Linked DNA regions of Homo sapiens: regions 1 and 3 are each linked to region 2. The links are contacts of gene promoters, found by promoter capture Hi-C in blood cells and fetal thymus (Javierre and others, 2016). All regions are on one chromosome and are shown on one strand. Each heading gives the region's core, a stretch centred on a gene start or on the middle of the fragment in contact. The rest is flanking DNA. Distances are from core to core; before and after follow the strand shown.

Region 1 (3,109 bases), core at 176-2,675, 450 kb before region 2:
CAGTGTAGGCCTCTGAAGTAGAGGAGAGCCACCAGGGATGGGGAGTGGTTGAAGTATCTTTATTTTTTAATTATAGAAGTAATACACAGTTTTTTTAAAGTTTAAACAAAATATAAAAAGCAAACCCTCCCTTAGTCTCCATTACACAACTATATGTTAAGAATCTTATTAAACCAACTTGGTACTATTTGTATAATGCCTAGCAGTTTCAGAACGGGGCTGGGCACCTGGCTCTCAGACCCCCAGCTCTGAGACCCTCCATCCCCTTTTAGAAGATCTCATTGTTTTTAAAAATATCTCCTACCTTTTTATATTATTATTGATTGAATGCATGAGGTCAAAGTAATACATCTGCACATAAACCAAAAGGTGAGAATTCTGGGTAATACAAAATAACCCAGAACCCAAGCAGTCTTTTTTAAACTATAGATTATAACCCACGAAAAGGTCAGAAAGTCAATTTTGTGACTAGCATTCGAAGAAAAATGAACCAGAGTGGAAAATATATTTCAGTAAATGTGATGGTATGTGTGTTTGTGTGTGTGTCCTAGAATATGGTATAAATGTATTTCTTTGTCGGGGTTATGTTAGTGAGCATGTACCATTCTAGAAGGTGTAGCACCATCACTAGCCCAACAGAAATTTATCTTGGCCCAGCGCGGTGGCTCGTGCCTGTAATCCCAGCACTTTGGGAGGCCAAGGCGGGTGGATCACTTGAGTCCAGGAGTCCAAGACCAGCCTGGGCAACACAGTGAGACCCTAAAAAAATTTGTTTTAATAAATAAATAAGTTTATCTTGGCCAGGTGCGGTGGCTGACGCCTGTAATCCCAGCACTTTGGGAGGTCAAGGCAGGTGGATCACTAGAAGTCAAGAGTTCGAGACCAGCCTGGCCAATGTGGTGAAATTGTGTCTCTACTAAAAAAAAATACAAAAATACAAAAATTAGCCGGGTGTGTGGCTGGGCACAGTGGCTCACACCTGTAATCCCAGCACTTTGAGAGGCTGAGGTGGGCAGATCACCTGAGGTTGGGAGTTCAAGATCAGCCTGACCAACATGGAGAAACCTGGTCTCTACTAAAATTACAAAATTAGCCGGGCATGGTGGCGCATGCCTGTAATCCCAGCTACTCGGTAAGGCTGAGGCAGGAGAATCGCTTGAACTCAGGAGGCGGAGGTTGCAGTGAGCCAAGATAGCGCCATTGCACTCCAGCCTGGGCAACAAGAGAGAAACTCTGTCTCAAAAAATAAATAAATAAATAAATAAATAAATTAGCCGGGTGTGGTGGGCGCCTGTAATCCCAGCTACTCAGGAGGCTGAGACAGGAGAATCATTTCAACCCAGGAAGCGGAGGTTTCACTGAGCTGAGACCGCGACGAGCCTGGGTGACAGAGCAAAAAAATAAATAAATAAAGTTTATCTCTAAGAATCATAGAGATGGATTCCCTATAGAAACTCATAAGGTTGGTGAAATGATAAATGAGGCTTTTTTTTTTTTGGTTTGGTTTTTTTGTTTTTATTTTTGTAGAAACAGGGTCTGTGTTGCCCAGCCCTGTCTCAAATTCCTAGGCTCAAGAGATCTACCCGACTGGGCCCCTGAAGTGCTGGGATTACGGCCTTGAGTCACCATGCCAGCGAGTTAGTTTTTAAGCCGTGGTTTTGTGCCCTCAGTTCAAGATGCAGGTGCCTGTCTTTTACTGTTGAGAATTTGCACTAATGATGAAGGGTGATAAGAAACCATACCATAACTCAGCACCTGTTCTGTTTTTTACCGTAGGAATTGATTAGATTCTTACACAAGAGCATAGCTCAAAAGAGAAAGATTGTGTTAGGGTGAGGTTTACTGCAAGGGAGTGCTGAGGGCTGACACTGTGTGAGGCCTGGGCTAACGGGCCCAGGGCAAGGATATGCCCTGAGGTGATTAAGAACAGTGCTGTCTTCAGGAGCTGAGGGTCAGCAGGCAAGACAGACACAGCCAAAATGAGCAAGGTGGTGGAGGGGGCGGGCAGGTGTGCGGGTGTGGCTGGAACAGCCCGTCTTCAGGAGCTGAGGGTCAGCAGGTAAGACAGACACAGCCAAAATGAGCAAGGCGCTGGAGGGGGCGGGCAGGTGTGCGGGTGTGGCTGGAACAGCCCGTCTTCAGGAGCTGAGGGTCAGCAGGCAAGACAGACACAGCCAAAATGAGCAAGGTGGTGGAGGGGGCGGGCAGGTGTGTGGGCGTGGCTGGAACAGCCCGTCTTCAGGAGTGGAGGGTCAGCAGGTAAGACAGACACAGCCAAAATGAGCAAGGTGGTGGTAGGGGCAGACAGGTGTGCGGGTGTGGCTGGAGCAGCCACCTGGAGGGCACCCTGGACAGTTCTGGCATCCACGCAGCCCACGCCATCTTGGAGGCCAGTGCCTGGGCTTCTCAACTCCAACTTCCCGTCCAGGTTCAACTCCTTCCACCCGGACACGCGCAAGCCGATGCACAGAGAGTGTGGCTTCATTCGCCTCAAGCCCGACACCAACAAGGTGGCCTTTGTCAGCGCCCAGAACACAGGTGAGGCCCAGCTTGCGGGGCGGGAGGGCTGGCCATGGGAGGCTGCTGCCTGCATTCGAAGCAGGGGTGCAGGGATGCCCATGTGCAACCCTGCTGAGGCATGTGCTGGTGGGGACCGTGGGGATGGCCCTGAGTGTTGAGAGTGGTCCTGGGAGCCTGCGGGGCCGACTGTGTAGCTGTAGGGGCCTCCGGCACACAGGTTGTGTGCGTGCAGCCCCCTGACCATGAGGGCCCGTTTACCCAGTGCCACGTCTGCAGAAATGGCCATCAGCTGTGTGCATTCATTAGGAATTGCTGGAAAACAGGTTGGGCACAGTGGCTCACGCCTGTAATCCCAGCACTTTGGGAGGCCTAGGTGGGCAGATCACTTGAGGTCAGGAGTTCAAGACCAGCCTGGCCAACATACTGAAATCCCGTCTCTACTAAAAATACAAAAATTAGCTGGGTGTGGTGGTGCATGCCTGTAATCCCAAGCCACTTGGGAGGCTGAGGCAGGAGAATCACTTGAACCTGGGAGGCAGAGGTTGCGGTGAGCCAAGAATGCGCCACTGCACTCCAGCCTGGGCAACAG
Region 2 (3,089 bases), core at 393-2,892:
CCAACAAAGTGAATGAGGAGGAAGAAAGTTGAATTCAGACTTTTTGGAACTATGACAGCTTTGAAAACAGGTATCACCTTGTGTAACTCAATCTTCCGGTTCCTTGTTACCCCTTCCCAACAGTCCATTCGATTTCAAGAGAAGACCCTTCTCCACCCTCACCACGTGAACCAAGGAGCAGACTCTGGTAGATCCCAGCGCCTCAGTTTCCTCGTCAGCTGACCGAGGAGGCTCCCCCGCCCGTCAATCTCAGAGGCTCGGGGCGAGGCTCCAACTGGACTGAATGGAGCCACCGCGTCCCATTCAGCCCCACCCCCGGCCTGGCCTCGCGCCGCCGCTCTCCCCCTAGCTCTGGGTCCTTCCCGGCCGCTGCCGCCCCCGGGCCGGGGCTCCCCCGAGGTCCAGCGCCTCCCCCGCTCCCCCGGGTCCGGCTGTCAGCTGTCAGGGGGCCGCGCGGCGGCGGCCAGAGGCAGGACGTGGAGTTTCTCTCAGGCACGGAGCAGTTCCAGCCCGCAGCTCCCCCCGCCCGCTGGGCCCTTGGGCCGCCGCCCGCAGGGGCCGCTCACCCTCCATCATCTCCTGCGACTGTTGCTGCCCCGCGCCGCGTTCCGCCGCCATGTTGGCTGCTCTTCCCCTTTCCGGAATCTGTCGCCTCAGACCCCTCAGCCAATCAGGGCTCCCGCCTCAGAGCCGGCCCTGCCAATGGGATTCCGGCGCGGCGACTTCAGCCGCGCCGCGCCTGCGTGGGCCCAGCGCCTCATGGGAGTTGTAGTTCCGTCATGAGGCCGCGCGCCGCGCCTCCCCCAGAGCAGGTAATTTCAGGCGGCGGAGCCGGAACAGTCTGGAGGCGAGAAGCTGGGAAGGAAAGCAGAGGGAGTCGAAGCGGGACGCACAGAGCCGTAGCTGCAGGCAGACGGAGTGGACGTCTAGGCAGAGTGGAGAGACGCCCTGGGCTTGAGAGTTGACTTATGTCACTGTCTCGACCTCGGAGGCGTGGAGGGGCCGCGGGCCAGGCGGATCTTTCCGTGGCTGCAAGGTGCGGGCCAGTCCTACGTGCATCCCTGACCTCTGCGAGCCTCGCTGGCTGCGTCTGTACAATGGGCCGAACGGCAAGAGCAACAACATTCTCCCGGCGTCCCCGCGCGGATTTTACCCATGCGAAATGCCGCCTTCTCTTGACGCTCGGAGCAGGCGGGCAGGTGCGGGGCACTTGCGCTGGTGGGGCCGCTAGCCAGCTGGCTGGCTCCGGGGCGCCAGCTGGGCTCCCCTTGCAAGTCGTTCCCAGCCCAGTGCGGACGCTGCAGCCTTCGTCTACCCTGCGGAGCCACCCGGCCCATGAACGAGCCGCCCCGCGTCCTCCGCCTTCAGAAAGAGGCCTCCAAGAGGCGAGCTCTGCGCTACTCACCCATTTTGATCGCGAGTCGGGAGGAAACCGCATCTGCCCGGCCCGGGGGCGGAGGCGCCCATTATTCCTTTGGCTCCTCCGAAGCGCCGTAGGGGTGTTTGGTGCGTCCCTAGCAACCCTTAGCGCGGGCTTCTAGACTCTGGCTAGCTTAGTCCCGCCCATACGCGCAAGTGGCTGGTCCGTGGAGCTTGTCAATCGGTGCTAGTCGCTGTGCGATTGGTCGGTGGGATAAAAGCGCGGAAGGGCTCCTTTCCGTGGTGTGTAGCCGGCTTGGCGTGACCCTCGCCTGATCCAGGTGAGATACCTGCGCTCGGGAGAGCGGGCCGGGCTCCGCCATCTCCCCAGGGCGGCTGTGGGGCCTGCGCGGCTCCGCGCCCCTGGCCCAGGAGGATCCGCCGCCCGACTCTTAGACCAGCCCGACCCCGGGTCTCCCGCCCCTGCGCCCGTCGCCCTTCGCGCACCGCCGAGCCCGCGTCCTCTCCGTGCCCAAATCGCGGCGGGGTTGCGGCCGTTGGCCCTGGGCCCCGCGCCCCCAGCGTCTTCGGGGTGCCCTTCAGTGTAGCCTGCCCGGTGGGCGCCGAGGCCCCGCGCCTCGGGTCGCCTCGGGACCCTGCGCTCTCTTCACCGCAGCCGGCCCTGCGGGGCGAGCTCCAGGAGAACCAGCCCGGATCCCGCCAGCCTCCTGCACTGGGCGTGTGGGTCCCTGCGGGCTCAGCCGGCGCCGCGGGGTCGGGGGCGCGCGCCGCCGGCGCTCGTGGTTACAGCAAAGACCTGGACTTGAGCCTTAATTTTTTCACTAATTTTTCTTTCCCAGAGTACGGCAGGGGCCTGCGCTGCCGTCTTGAGGCCTTTCTCGTCCTTACCTTCCGCATCTCAGTACCATTCGATGTCCATTTTTCTCTTAGGGGTTCCCTCTCTTCATCTTTCTGCTGCTACCTTAATTTAAGACTTTATAATTTCTTGCCTGGATTACTGTAGCCTTTCTCCTGCTTTCCAGCCTTGCACCGACATGGTCCCTGGAGTAATCTTTGTAAAATGCATATCTGGCCATGTTACTCCTAAGCATTGAATCCTTAAAAGTTCATTTTGGGGATAAAATTAAGACTTTGGGCAGGCATAGGAGGCTCTGGGCTCATGCTTGGCCCTTCCAGGCCCACGTCCACCTACTCTTCTGGGTACTGAACTCCTCTCTGGGAGGCTTTGCCTCTGAAAGACTTCTTCACTCTGCTTGGTAGGGCCCGGCTCTGCAGGTGCCTCCTCCAGGACTGACATCCTTGCTGTGTTCTACTGCACTGTTCACCTTGTTGGCCTCATCCTGAAACTGGTTCTCCTTTTTGTTGTACAGCTGTGCTGACAGCAATGGGAGCTGTTTGCTTCTTAGCTTATGTTCTGGTGGGAGGGGGACAGTTGCTTCTAGAAGTTCGCCGAGATGCTCCCTGCAAAGTTGTCCTTGCTTCTGTTTGGTCTGAGGTGGGGTCACTTGTGTCTTCTGGAATCAAAACTAGCAATGGGAATATGGTTACTCGGTGGCACCATTAGGTGCTGTCTGCTGGGTTTGGGTTCCCGTGTCTGCAGCTCACAGTGGATACAAAGGACAATTTTAAAAATTTGGGCCTGGACGTGCAGGTATTTCTGGTTAACGTCTGAGTCAAAATTTAGTGATCTAAGGTCATGTGAAGCCAGA
Region 3 (3,471 bases), core at 52-2,551, 490 kb before region 2:
ACTTTGGGAGGCCGAGGCGGGCAGATCACTTGAGGTCAGAAGTTCGAGAACAGCCTGGCCAACATGGTGAAACCCCATCTCTACTAAAAATATAAAAAAGTTAGCCAGGCATGGTGGTGCACACCTGTAATCCCAGCTACTCGGGAGGCTGAGGCAGGAGAATCTCTTGAACCCAGGAGGCGAAGGCTGCAGTGAGCTGAGATAGAGCCACTGCACTCCAGCCAGTCTGGGCGACAGTGAGACTCCGTCTTAAAAAAAAAAAAAAAAAAAAAAAAAAGGACGGAGAGGTGCTGTACACCTTAAGAAAGAGTCCCCCTTAGAAGCAGTTCTCCCATTTGGTCGGCTGGATCCCAGACACTTGATTTTCCACGCCCTCTTCCCTGGGACTTCTGCGATCACAAGCAGAAGAGGGCAGATGGCATTTTAATAATATAGTAATTCCATCAGAAAAAACATGTGACTTAGTACTACTAATCTGACAGGCAGAAATGTAGGGAATTGTACTCAATGAATTTAACCAACTTCTCTCCATTTAGTACCAATTACACTTCATTCAACCAGAGAGGACTACAAAAAAAAACGAGTAAATTTAAGAGCTTACTGTAAACCACTTCATTTCGAAGAAACCTTCCTAAAACACTTAGAAGTTATTTTCCAAAAGATTTATATTTTATAAATTCAACAAAGGTTCTTCTTTTCCTTTAGAAAGCTCTTAGGTTTAAGATAACAGTTTGCATATGATTACTACTTTTTTTTAAATCTCCAAGAGTTTACATGAGAATGCTAGTAGTTCAGTCCTGAATGAAAACAGAGAAAGAGAGAAAGGAACTCCAAATTTAGCTACATCAGAAAGCTAGAAAACACTGTTTCAGTGCACACACTGGGCAGATTGCGCACATTAAAACCCACTCCCCTAGATCGCGCCCACCGCACTCCAGCCTGGGAAACAGAGCAAGACTCCATCTCAAGAAAAAAAAAAAAACCACTCCCCAGCAGCCTCTGCATTCATTACATGTTATGCTAACATACTGGATTTATGTTAAACTCTACAAACTGAAAGCTTTGATAGTAGGGGAATGTGTAGGTTATTATTAATTCAAGTTCTGTTTTTTTTTTATTACCAACCACATGCCAGACACAAGTGATGCACTAGAAATGCAAGCACAAGACACCAGCTCTGTCCTCAAGGAATGGGCAGTGTGGCTATTTAAGTGCTGGCACCTGCCAGTCGTCTGAATGGGGAGCATGCTTTTAGGGACAGTGCTAGGGACTGGTGGAGAACACAGCCACACTGTGGTCTGCCTGCCACCTCCTGGACCTCTCCACACCCGCAGAGGCCTTTGGCCTCTTTTCTTTCCCACCCACATTCACACCCTGGGTGACCTCATCTGATGTGACCTCCAGTCTATCTCCAGCCCAGGCTTATTCTTTTAGCTCCAAACCTGTAGACCCAAAAGCCCACTGGACACTGCTCTACAAGGATGTCTAACATCCACCTCACATTCAACACACATAAATCCAAACTCGCAACAGAAAGCTTCCCACCAGACAGGACCTCCCCAAGTCTTCCCCATCTGAGTTTCTTTTTTTTTTTTTTTTTGAGACAGAGTCTCGCTCTGTCGCCCAGGCTGGAGTGCAGTGGCGCAGTCTTGGCTCACTGCAAGCTCCGCCTCCCGGGTTCACGCCATTCTCCTGCCTCAGCCTCCTGCGTAGCTGGGATCACAGGCGCCCGCCACTATGCCCGGCTAATTTTTTGTATTTTTAGTAGCGACGGGGTTTCACCGTGTTAGCCAGGATGGTCTCGATCTCCTGACCTTGTGATCCGCCCACCTCGGCCTCTCAAAGTGCTGGGATTACAGGCGTGAGCCACCACGCCCGCCCCCCTCCATCTGAGTTGCTTAGCTCAGGCCATACACTATGGGGCCATCTTTAACTCCTCCCTCTCTACCCATCCCTCTCCCAACTTCCAATCTACAAACAAATTCTATTGTCTCAACCTCCAAAACACATGCAGAAGTCAACCTCTTACCCACCCTGAGCTAATCCACTGGCATCTCCTTGCTGGCTTGTTCAACAGTCTCTTAGCTGGTCTCGCTGCCTCTGCCCTTGCCCCTCTGCAGTACATTCTCAAAAGAGATGCCAGAGCAAGCCTGTTGAACACAGTCTATCATGTGACTCCTCCTCTAGAATGAAACCTTCCAAACGGCTGCCATCCTGTTCAGAATAAACACTGAGTCCTCACTATGAGCTGCCATCCTGTTCAGAATAAACACCGAGTCCTCACTATGAGCTGGCAAGGCCCCACTACACTGAGCCTAAGTCACCTTTCTATCCTCAGCTCCTGCTTCTCCCACCGCCACCCGCTGCACCTGAGCCACACCAGGCTCTTGCTACCTGCCCTTCCTCCTACACTGCTTTAAGTCTTCGTCAAAACTTAAACCTTCAGAGTGAGACCCTTCCTGGCCATCCTGGCTACAATTCCAATCCTCCTCATCCTTGGCCCAAATCACCATCCCCCAGGAGCCACGCACTTCGCTGCTAATGCTGGTCTCATGTCTAGAACGTTAGCTACCCCAGGGCAATGGTTTTCATCTATGTTGTTACTTCTCTAGTCCTAGTGTCTAGAACAATGCCTAACACATATCTGACAGTCAGTAACAAACAGTGTATTGAATTAATGACTATCAGAACAGAAACTGTATTACACATGGTCAAGGAAGGCAGAATCTTCAAGAACTCTAGAGATCAAAGGAGGGCAGATCATTAATCATCTCTGAAAGGAAATACAGCATCAAGTCAGAAGGAAAATTCCCCATGATATCCTACAAACATCATATACGTTTTTATCAGCATAAACAGAGACCTTTAAATGCAAACACCTTTTCTACTCTGATCCCACATGCAGCAACATCCAGTGTCCTATTAAAGTATCACCATGTCAACACAGTTGTCAAGGGAAAATAAAAGATAAAATAAAGTATCGCCATGTAACAACATAACTGTTCTCCCAACTTGAACATGATGATTTTCACATTTTAGGTCATATGATCGACACTGAACCGTGTTTTTGACCTTAGCCAAGTCTCTCATATGATACTCCAGCCTCAAGGTATCGAAATGATAGAGGCAGGAGGCAGACAAATCCTAGGCAGAGAGGGGTGGGTCACCAGTGAAACCCAACCTTCAAGCCACAGTTTAAAGCCTGAAAGCCAAGCGACGAGTCTCGGATAAATCCACAGACTGGATTGCGAACCTCTCTTCCTGTTTGGTGCGCTTTCCTCTAATTAATCCCCACCCTTCACCTATTTTACATATACCTACTTTTCTCTAATTGGTTTATTACACTGTTGTGCCCACCTTTGAGTAGTGACTTTGTTTTAACCTTTTTTGCATACTCACAGACAAATCAGCACACACTCCCCATTCTGAGCCTATAAAAGCCCTGGACCCAGCCACACCAAGGGAGACCAC

The links. The method cuts DNA at HindIII sites, captures the fragments that hold promoters and counts their contacts. A CHiCAGO score of 5 or more calls a contact.
Region 1: a contact is called between a fragment that was not itself captured here and the fragment with the promoter of PASK in region 2, in 1 of 17 cell types (total B cells). The highest score is 5.4, in total B cells.
Region 3: a fragment that was not itself captured here is called in contact with the fragment with the promoter of PASK in region 2 in 1 of 17 cell types (neutrophils); the score reaches 9.1 in neutrophils.

Annotation. Positions count from the first base shown.
Region 1 is chr2:241,602,399-241,605,507 of GRCh38, reverse strand. THAP4 (THAP domain containing 4) reads left to right here. Exons shown (of 6, transcript NM_015963.6): 4 at 2,429-2,538. Among named protein-coding and RNA genes, the nearest start is that of THAP4, 33 kb to the left of the region's middle. The HindIII fragment of the contact is 8,965 bases long and covers 1-3,109 here.
Region 2 is chr2:241,148,025-241,151,113 of GRCh38, reverse strand. PASK (PAS domain containing serine/threonine kinase) reads left to right here and starts at 1,642. Exons shown (of 18, transcript NM_015148.4): 1 at 1,642-1,700. It overlaps PPP1R7 (protein phosphatase 1 regulatory subunit 7), which reads right to left and starts at 647. Exons shown (of 10, transcript NM_002712.3): 1 at 567-647. The coding sequence starts at 618. RefSeq lists silencers at 226-565, 1,696-2,055, 2,116-2,175, 2,226-2,275 and enhancers at 856-1,015, 2,529-2,688. The HindIII fragment of the contact is 12,026 bases long and covers 1-3,089 here.
Region 3 is chr2:241,639,679-241,643,149 of GRCh38, reverse strand. The region is part of intron 1 of ATG4B (autophagy related 4B cysteine peptidase); the gene reads right to left. Among named protein-coding and RNA genes, the nearest start is that of ATG4B, 3.7 kb to the right of the region's middle. The HindIII fragment of the contact is 477 bases long and covers 1,063-1,539 here.